Regions from separate parts of the Homo sapiens genome. Here all the other regions are linked to region 1. The links are contacts of gene promoters, found by promoter capture Hi-C in blood cells and fetal thymus (Javierre and others, 2016). All regions are on one chromosome and are shown on one strand. The core of a region is centred on a gene start or on the middle of the fragment in contact, and the rest is flanking DNA. Distances in the headings are between cores, read along the strand shown. Region 1 holds the start of C1QTNF7 (C1q and TNF related 7). Region 2 overlaps C1QTNF7-AS1 (C1QTNF7 antisense RNA 1). Region 3 overlaps C1QTNF7-AS1 (C1QTNF7 antisense RNA 1).

Evidence for each region. Contacts are between HindIII fragments. The CHiCAGO score rates a contact against its expected background, and 5 or more counts as called.
Region 2: a fragment that was not itself captured here is called in contact with the fragment with the promoter of C1QTNF7 in region 1 in 2 of 17 cell types (M1 macrophages and M2 macrophages); the score reaches 5.5 in M1 macrophages.
Region 3: a fragment that was not itself captured here is called in contact with the fragment with the promoter of C1QTNF7 in region 1 in 4 of 17 cell types (monocytes, M1 macrophages, M0 macrophages and 1 more); the score reaches 7.9 in monocytes.

Annotation. Positions count from the first base shown.
Region 1 is chr4:15,426,708-15,429,408 of GRCh38, reverse strand. It overlaps C1QTNF7 (C1q and TNF related 7), which reads right to left and starts at 1,376. Exons shown (of 3, transcript NM_031911.5): 1 at 1,303-1,376. It overlaps C1QTNF7-AS1 (C1QTNF7 antisense RNA 1), which reads left to right and starts at 1,495. Exons shown (of 6, transcript NR_125911.1): 1 at 1,495-1,580. The HindIII fragment of the contact is 5,402 bases long and covers 1-2,585 here.
Region 2 is chr4:15,227,220-15,229,920 of GRCh38, reverse strand. All of the region lies in intron 2 of C1QTNF7-AS1 (C1QTNF7 antisense RNA 1), which reads left to right. Among named protein-coding and RNA genes, the nearest start is that of C1QTNF7-AS1, 200 kb to the left of the region's middle. The HindIII fragment of the contact is 1,822 bases long and covers 440-2,261 here.
Region 3 is chr4:15,244,213-15,246,913 of GRCh38, reverse strand. All of the region lies in intron 2 of C1QTNF7-AS1 (C1QTNF7 antisense RNA 1), which reads left to right. Among named protein-coding and RNA genes, the nearest start is that of C1QTNF7-AS1, 180 kb to the left of the region's middle. The HindIII fragment of the contact is 2,375 bases long and covers 160-2,534 here.

The sequences.
Region 1 (2,701 bases), core at 127-2,626:
GGAGGAAGGGAAGAGGGGAATGGGAATTTATGGTTTCATGGGTATAGAGAGTTTCAGTTTGGGAAGACGAAGAAGTCCTGGAGAGATGGTGATGATACTGCATAACAAAATGAATGTATTTAATGCTGCAGAACCGTACACATAAGAATGGTTGAAATGGTAAATTTTATGATATGTATATTTTACCATAATTAAAAAAACTGAATAAAAATGAATTGGAATGCAGGGAGAGCCCAGTATTCTTATTTCTGTGCCAGGTGTTTTAAGGACATCTTTTACTTTATCCTCACACCACTTGTTATGAAGTAAGTGCTATTACCTTCACTTTATAAGTAAGAACATTGATACTCTGTGGGCTCAAGTCCACACAGGCATGAAATGGTGCAGCCAGAATTTGTACTGAGTTCTTTTGTCTTCAAACACTTGAGTTTGTCCCTACATCATGTGAGGGAAACTATAACATATTACTTCATGACAAAGGGCTGGACTTGATAATTAATTCAAGTTGAAAATGTGCTTTGCCTGGAAATCATTAAGAAGAGAATAGGTAACCAGGAAAAGCCAAAACGGGACATTTTCTTGGCCTGCAGAGGTGGAGATTTCACAACAGCAAGCTCTGTGTTTCTCTTGTTGCACTGGGAGTGGCACTGTGATTGGGACAGGATGGAGACCTGAGCTGCTCATGCCTCAGTTCCTTTTATGTTGTTGTTCACCAGTTCTTTGCTTTTGGGGGCTCCAATTTTCCTCTGCAGAACTGCTTTTCCTGTTTGCCATGAATTAACCTCCTTCTCCTCCTGGCACTACTCAAGTCCCTGCAAGGCCACACAATTGCACTGTGTTATGGCTATCTATTGACTTGCTTGTTTCCCCACTAAAATGCAAACTCTAGGACAGAGACTAGTCTACAGTAGAGGCTCAATGAAGAAAAAAAAATTCATCAATATTTATTATTGTCAACAGTTCATTATTGATAAAGTTTTGACTACTTTATGGCACAGTGATTAAAAAAAACCCTGACATTTGCAAAACATTTTATATCCTAGAGAGCAATGCTAAGCCCATATCGTCCTCCCCAAAACCATCTTGTGGTAGGTTAGATGGGGAACCAAGGTCCTGAGAAGTCCCGCAACTTGTCTATGGTTAGAAAGCTAGTGTCAGTCCAGAGACTTGAAGCTAGGTCTTCAGTTTTATGGATTCTTCCTACAGAGCCATCTGTTTAATAAGCTAAAAAGCTCCCGTCACGAGAACAGGCCATTGCATCTACATTTGCCAAAATTCTAAAAAAAAGAGTAAACACCATACCTTGCTCTTAGATGGTGGGCTGCTGCAGGATTCTAAATCCACAAGAGACTGAGGATCTTTCATGAGAGCTCAGTGAAAAACTTGCTTTGGTACCAGACAGAATAACAGATCCAAATTCTCAAAGATTTCCAAATAGTTGTGCTAAAAATAATTTTCTCGTTTAGTCCCAAAGAGCCAAAGGCCCTGGAAGTCATTCATCGAGTGAGGCTCAACTCGGGGACCAGTTAAAATTACAGTTTTGTTTGGGATAAACTTTAAGTGCCTGCTTTCCTTCAGTGGTAAGTTTAGAGCTTCTCCATCTCTGTGTGTTGTGGCCTCTTTTTCAGATTTGTTTACTTAATTTTTTCCCTCTTCATTTGTTTTCCACTGAGTGAATGTTTCAGGAAAAAAATTACTCACTGACTGGAAATTAGTTGTTAACTTAGAGAAAAAAGCCATTTTATATTTGAGAGTTTTGGAGGTAGAGCCTTTAGATTCTGGACCTAGGATGGTGTCTTGTGGAATAATGAACACTGTCCCTATTCTTGGTAAATATGGCAGGAAAATAGCCCCTCATTCTATGTGCTGTGCAAAGAAAGAGGGTTATGAGAATTGCACTGATTTTGTTTTCTTTGTTCTTTGCTGAATGGATAAATGATTGGGTATTTTTAGAAAACTAATATGTCTTTGTGCCTGTAAAGAACTGATCATAACATCTCAAAAGGCAGAATGATTCTCCAAAGCATATGACTAGTCGTCTATGGTGCAATCAATTTCTTTGTTTCCTTCTGCTATGTATTTCTTATATTTCCTTGGCAACAGCAATATATAATTTATGATGTCATTTATGGAAATTAGACGACTGAAAAAAATCTTGTTTTTATCTTTCTTTTCCTCTCATTCTTCTCAAGCAATGAGAACTCTAATTGAAAGGAATGTTTCCAGAGTTAGTGAAGTGGATGTTGACCACACACTTGACCAACGAGATTGCTGGGCTCCCCGTTCTGACCAGCTTAATTTTGCCTTTGGGATCCACTCTCCACACTGGAGGAAATGGTCCTTTGAATTTGTTGGCTTTCCAAAATCTTAATGCCATCATAGGATGGTCAAAACAATGTCTTGAGCATAGAAGCTAGTCATAACTTATTGCTAAATTAGAGTCAGATTTTAATCAGATAAAGTCTCTGTGTCTGTTTTCTCACTTTCAAAATAAGATGGTTGTCCTTGATTATTTCCAGGGTTTCTCATAGTTCTTAATATTCTCGAACCAAATGATGGTGTCTGATGTCACCCATTTACAAGCTTAATTTCAGGTGATACAGCCTTTTAATATGTTCATTTATTTGTTTATAAGTGATAACTTCTTAAGTGGGCTTTTTCCATTATGTCTGCTTTGGAGTAGCCCAGTCTCTGCCAGGGA
Region 2 (2,701 bases), core at 101-2,600, 200 kb after region 1:
CGTTCGGCATCCTGGATAAGTTCCACATCTTTCTGCCACTTCTCTCTCTCTCTCTCTCTCTCTCCCTCTGTCTTCTTTTTCTCTCTGTAATTGATGTATAGTGTTCCATGGTGAGGTGTACCTATTGTAACTCTGCAGTTTCCTTTCTAGGTAGTCTGCTGCCTTTATTCAGCAGAAGATCAAAGATCCCACCCATGCATGGTATCTCAAGGACTGGAGGGGGAAAAAAAGACAGCAAGTGGGAGTGCCCTCATTTGAGACTATATTTGAGTGAGCATTAAGTAGTGAGTAGCTGAACCTGTAGAGGCTGAAGGGCCTAGAGGCATTGTGGACAAGGCTCCTTGGCAGCTGAAAGATGAGCGGTGTGCTATGAATCCCACCTTACCTATAAGAATGGTACACTTTAATTGGAGGGTTCTTATGGTTTCTATTTTAAGCTTCATTCATATATCATTTATTCAGTCAACAAACATTTTTGAGTGTCTACTCTGAGGCAACCAGGAATGCAGAAATAAATTTTCTTAATAGATACAAACTGATAAGTATCCACAGAGCAATTGCATTCTATGGGACACAATTCATTTGCATTGATCTGGTCACAAATATTTGCATGACTCAGCTTTCTACAATTTACAGAGTAGTAGAAGGATTCAAAGACAATGAGGCTGGGCGTGGTGGCTCACATGGTGGCTCAATCCCAGCACTTTGGGAGGCCAAGGCGGGCAGATCACTTGAGGTCAGGAGTTCGTGACCAGCCTGGCCAACATCGTGAAACCCTGTCTCCGCTAAACATACAAAAATTAGCTGAGCATGGTGGCACACGCCTGTAATCCCAGCCACTTGGGAGGCGGAGGCAGGAGAATCGCTTGAACCTGGGAGGAGGAGGTTGCAGTGAGCTGAGATGGTGCCACTGCACTGCAGCCTGGGTGACAGAGCAAGACTCTGGCTCAAAAGAAAAAAAAAAAATTAAAAGACAATGAAAGGCAGAGATCACCCAGAAAGGTATATTAGGCTGAACATCCGGGAAGTTTTTTCTTCCTCTCATTTTAAAGACTTTCAGAATTTTAATGGACAAATATCACATTAACATACAACCGAAAAAAATGTGGCACGTAAATGCCAAGACCATGGAGATAAAGGCAGTTTAAAAACAGCAGAATTAATTTATCTGTAAGATGACTTTGGTAGGAGGAAAGTACACCAATCTTTCTACAAAACAGCAAGGAAGTACGGGGGCTGATGTATTTAGCACACATTGTTACTTGATATTGGAGGGCCCGCATAGGAACACTTGATGTTTATTAGTGGGTGATGGGGATTTCATCATAGATTGCAGCTATTTCCTTTAACCTGAACTTCAGGTCAGCTGGAACCTCCCAGACATCAGCAAATGTAAGCCCAAGCCTCTTCCTCTCCAGGTGCTCTGATTACCCAGGTGCTTCTTGTTCAGTTCCAGCTCCTGCTTCGTTTCTTGCCTGAGGGTTGTATCTCTTTTTTGATCCCAGCTTCGCTGGCTTTGACCCTAAGTTTTTCCAAGAAAATAGGACTTCACTTTCTTCCTTTCATCCCTGTGATATTGTTCTGATTATAAGATTGCGATGGTTAATATTAAGTGTCAACTTGATTGGATTGAAGGATGCAAAGTATTGTTTCTGGATGTATCTGGGTGTTTCTGGGTATGGCCAGAAGAGATTAACATTTAAATCCGTAGACTGGGAGATGAACACCCACGAACAATGTGGGTGGACACCATCCCATCGGCTGCCCACGTAGCTAGGAAAAGCAGGCAGAAGAAGGTGGAAGAAGCCGATTTGCTGAGTCTTCAGGCCTCCATCTTTCTCCCGTGCTGGATGCTTCCTGCACTCCAACATCAGACTCCAAGTTCTTTGGCTTTTGGACTCTTGGACTTACACCAGGGGTTTGCCAGGGGCTCTTGGGCCTTCGGCCACAGACTGAAGGCTGCACTGTCAGCTTGTCCACTTTTGAGGTGTTGGCACTTGGACTGATCCACCACTGGCTTCCTCGCTCCCCAGCTTGCAGACGGCCTATTGTGGGACTTCACCTTGTGATCAGGTGAGTCAATTCTCCTTCATAAACTCCCTTTCATATATACAAATATCCTATTAGTTCTGTCCGTCTAGAGAAACCTGACTGACACAAGGGGTCATATCCAATCATTGAGACTTTTGGAGTATCCTGGATAGAGGCCATCCTGTGTCTCCCACCAGCTGAGCTCAGAAAATAGAGAAAAACTGCAAGCTTTTGGAGAACCTTCAAACATCATGTTTAAAGAAAATTTAATTTACTTTCTTTTGGCTGAGCTCTTGTTTTGAACCCATACATCAGCTGAAGTGGGTTGTCTTTTGAAATTCAAGTGAAAAGACTTAAATCTAATTCTGTATACTGCAAGGGTTATTTATCTTTTCCCATCTCTGAAGGGATTTGAAGGGTGGGGCAGGATGGGATAGTTTAAGCCTTTTCCAATCATCTCTAAATCTCCCGCTGCCCATATATTCATTGGGTAATTGGTTGTGACAGTTTTGTCACAATGCTCAGCAAAGTGTATCCTTGTTCTGTTTCAAATTGAACCTCTTCCTTCACTGATTTCCACCAAAAATATCTACCCACACAAGACCCACGTGAGTGCTTGTTTGGCTTAATGGGGATGAGGGTTAGGTAGCAATGCACAAATCACTCCTAA
Region 3 (2,701 bases), core at 98-2,597, 180 kb after region 1:
CATGTTCCTAAGTACAGAGAAAACTTCATAAAAAGAGAACCAAAGGGGGAGTTGAAGTTTCCTTGCTCCAGGCCTATACCTGAGAGCACATATCCTCTAAGCATTTAAAAACCTTCTGAAGAATGTGGAAATAGGCAGAGGGGAGATTATTTTTAAGCTTGCTGGTATCTGGGAATGGAGAGTAGCTGTTGCTAATGGCCAATGGGGAGAAATGATGAAAAGATAGAAATGCTAGAACCTTATATTGCCTGCAGTTAGACACTGCATGGATATAGTGGGGGATTTTGAAGAAGGCTCTAGAACACACAGTCTCTACAGAGGAGTGCAGTACAAAGGGCTCTAAGTTTGGACTCAGATGTCCTGGATCTGAAGCTCAGTATCCACTCTGGGTAATCTCTTGTCATGACCAGTTAATAGAAACTCTGAGAATATCAAGTTGTGATCAGCAAAATGGAAACATAGTAACTGTCTAAAAGAGCCATTCTGGGAACAGATTCACTGGGTTAACTTCATTCATTCACTAATTTGTTTATGTATTAACATTACTAACTGCCAATGTATGTAAGGCACTGTGCTAAGTTCTAGGAAAATAGAAAGGAGTCATCTGACTCCATTGCAAATTGGACTTTAAAATTCTAAAAGTGTTATGCTCTTTTAAAAAAATAGTTTCTATTTGTAATTGTAGGATATGAAATATTAAATGGACAATTATTCTGGTTAATGTGATGTTGGTAGATCTGGAGTCCAACCCAACTGGCTTCCTCTTGATTCCAAAGGATGTTCCTGAGTCACTTCCCAGGGATCCTCTGAGTGACATGGAATTGCTCTGAAACCACTGCATCCCAATGCAAGCCACCTTGCTGTATCACTCTATCAAATAGCCCATGTTCTGTACTCCTAAGCAGGATTGTCTTTCACAGAGGTTAAAGAAAGAGAGGGCAAATCCTAGTGGCCTTGGAGTAATGCACATTTTTTTCAGGAGGTTGATGAGAGTATCAGTGAGCAGCTACCCCAGAAAAATCTATTTTGTAGCCTGGCATAGAAAACTGGCCTTGATTTTTAATCTTAGCACAGCACCTGGCATAGAGATGCTCCATACATGATTTGCTGAATAAATGAATAGACTCCCCCATGACAACCTTTCCATCTGGCATGAAGTGGCCTACCATGGTGGCCATGAGCATTGCCTCCAGACCCCCCACCACAGACAGCAGAGTCAGCTGCTGGGCTTTGAAATCCACTGTGGTGTTTGTACCAAGGCTGTGTCTCCCATGGGTAGCTCCTGGCAAGGAAGAGCCTGGTGCAGACACTAAGTAGACTAAGGGATCCCTCTGGGTGAGCAGCTTTTTCTCAAGGACTCCGCGATGGCTTTGCTGAACCCTCTTTTGACTGCATGACAGGCAGTCTGTGATGTTTCCCCTACCCCCAACCTCCTCTCCCTCTCTCCTTCGCTTGAGTCAGATTCTTATCATGTTCTGATGACCTCCTAACCTTCCCAGCTCCCATCATTTTCTCTCTTACACAGGCATTTCTCCAATACAGTCCTTACATGTTTAACCCTGTCTTGTTACCTGTCCCTGGGAGGACCTGGACTGTCACATTTGCCAATCACTTTGTAGGATTAAATTATCTGGCCGTTGATTATGGATTTTAAGAACCAGCCCAGGCAGATAAGCATCTGTGAGGGTGGCCTGGAGTGGGAGGGCCTTGGGGATGAGTCAGCAAGGGAGGGGGTTTCACCCAGGACAGTTGGAGGGGAGTCAGAGTTGAACCTGGAAGAGTAGAAGAAGCACCACATCTCTAAAGAGAAAGAAGCACAAGAACTGATGAATGACCCGGTCAGGCTAGTAGCAAGGAGGGGGAAGCAGACTGCAATCAGATGGGATAAATGAAGTGGGGAGGGCAGTTCAACATGAAGCAGTTCAACATGTGCATAGAAAGGCTTACTTTTTAAGGTTTATGATCAGGGGGCTTTAAAACCTATTTGGCACATAGATTTGGGTACATGGTGGTGGTTGAGGTAAGGGAAACCAAAGGAGCTGGTGGGAGTTTTAAACAAAGAACCAGACTAGGGATCGGCAGCACATGACTCCCTGCCAACCTTGACCTTATCCCTTGACCAGACACATTGACTGAAATGTGGCAAGGACCCAATAGGCTTTTGGACAGGATGATTACCTGGGGATTCTGGCAGATGAGATTCTAGGGATTCTGGCAGATGAGAGGCAACATGCCAAAACAAAAACTCATGACTGGCCACATGTGCTGATATAGTTTGGATGTTTGTCCCTTCCAAATCTCATGTTGAAATTTGATCCCCAGTGTTGGAGGTGCGCCCTTTGCGGGAGGTGTTTGAGTCATGGGGCAGACACTCATGAATAGCTTAGTGACTTTCTCACAGTAATGAGGGAGTTCTTACTCTATTAGTTCACTGATTGTTAAAAACAAGCCTGGCACCCCCTCCCTTCTCTCTTGCTTCCTCTCTTGCCATGTGACACACCTGCTCCCCTTGCCTTCTGCTATAAGTAAAAGCTTCCTGAGGCTGTCACTGGAAACCAAGCAAGTTCTGGAGGCTCTCACTGGAAACCAACCAAGTTCTGGAGCCATGCTTCTTGTACAGCCTGCAGAAACGTGAGGCTAATAAACCTCTTTTTAAAATAAATTACCCAGTATCAGGTATTTATTTACTTATTTTTATTTT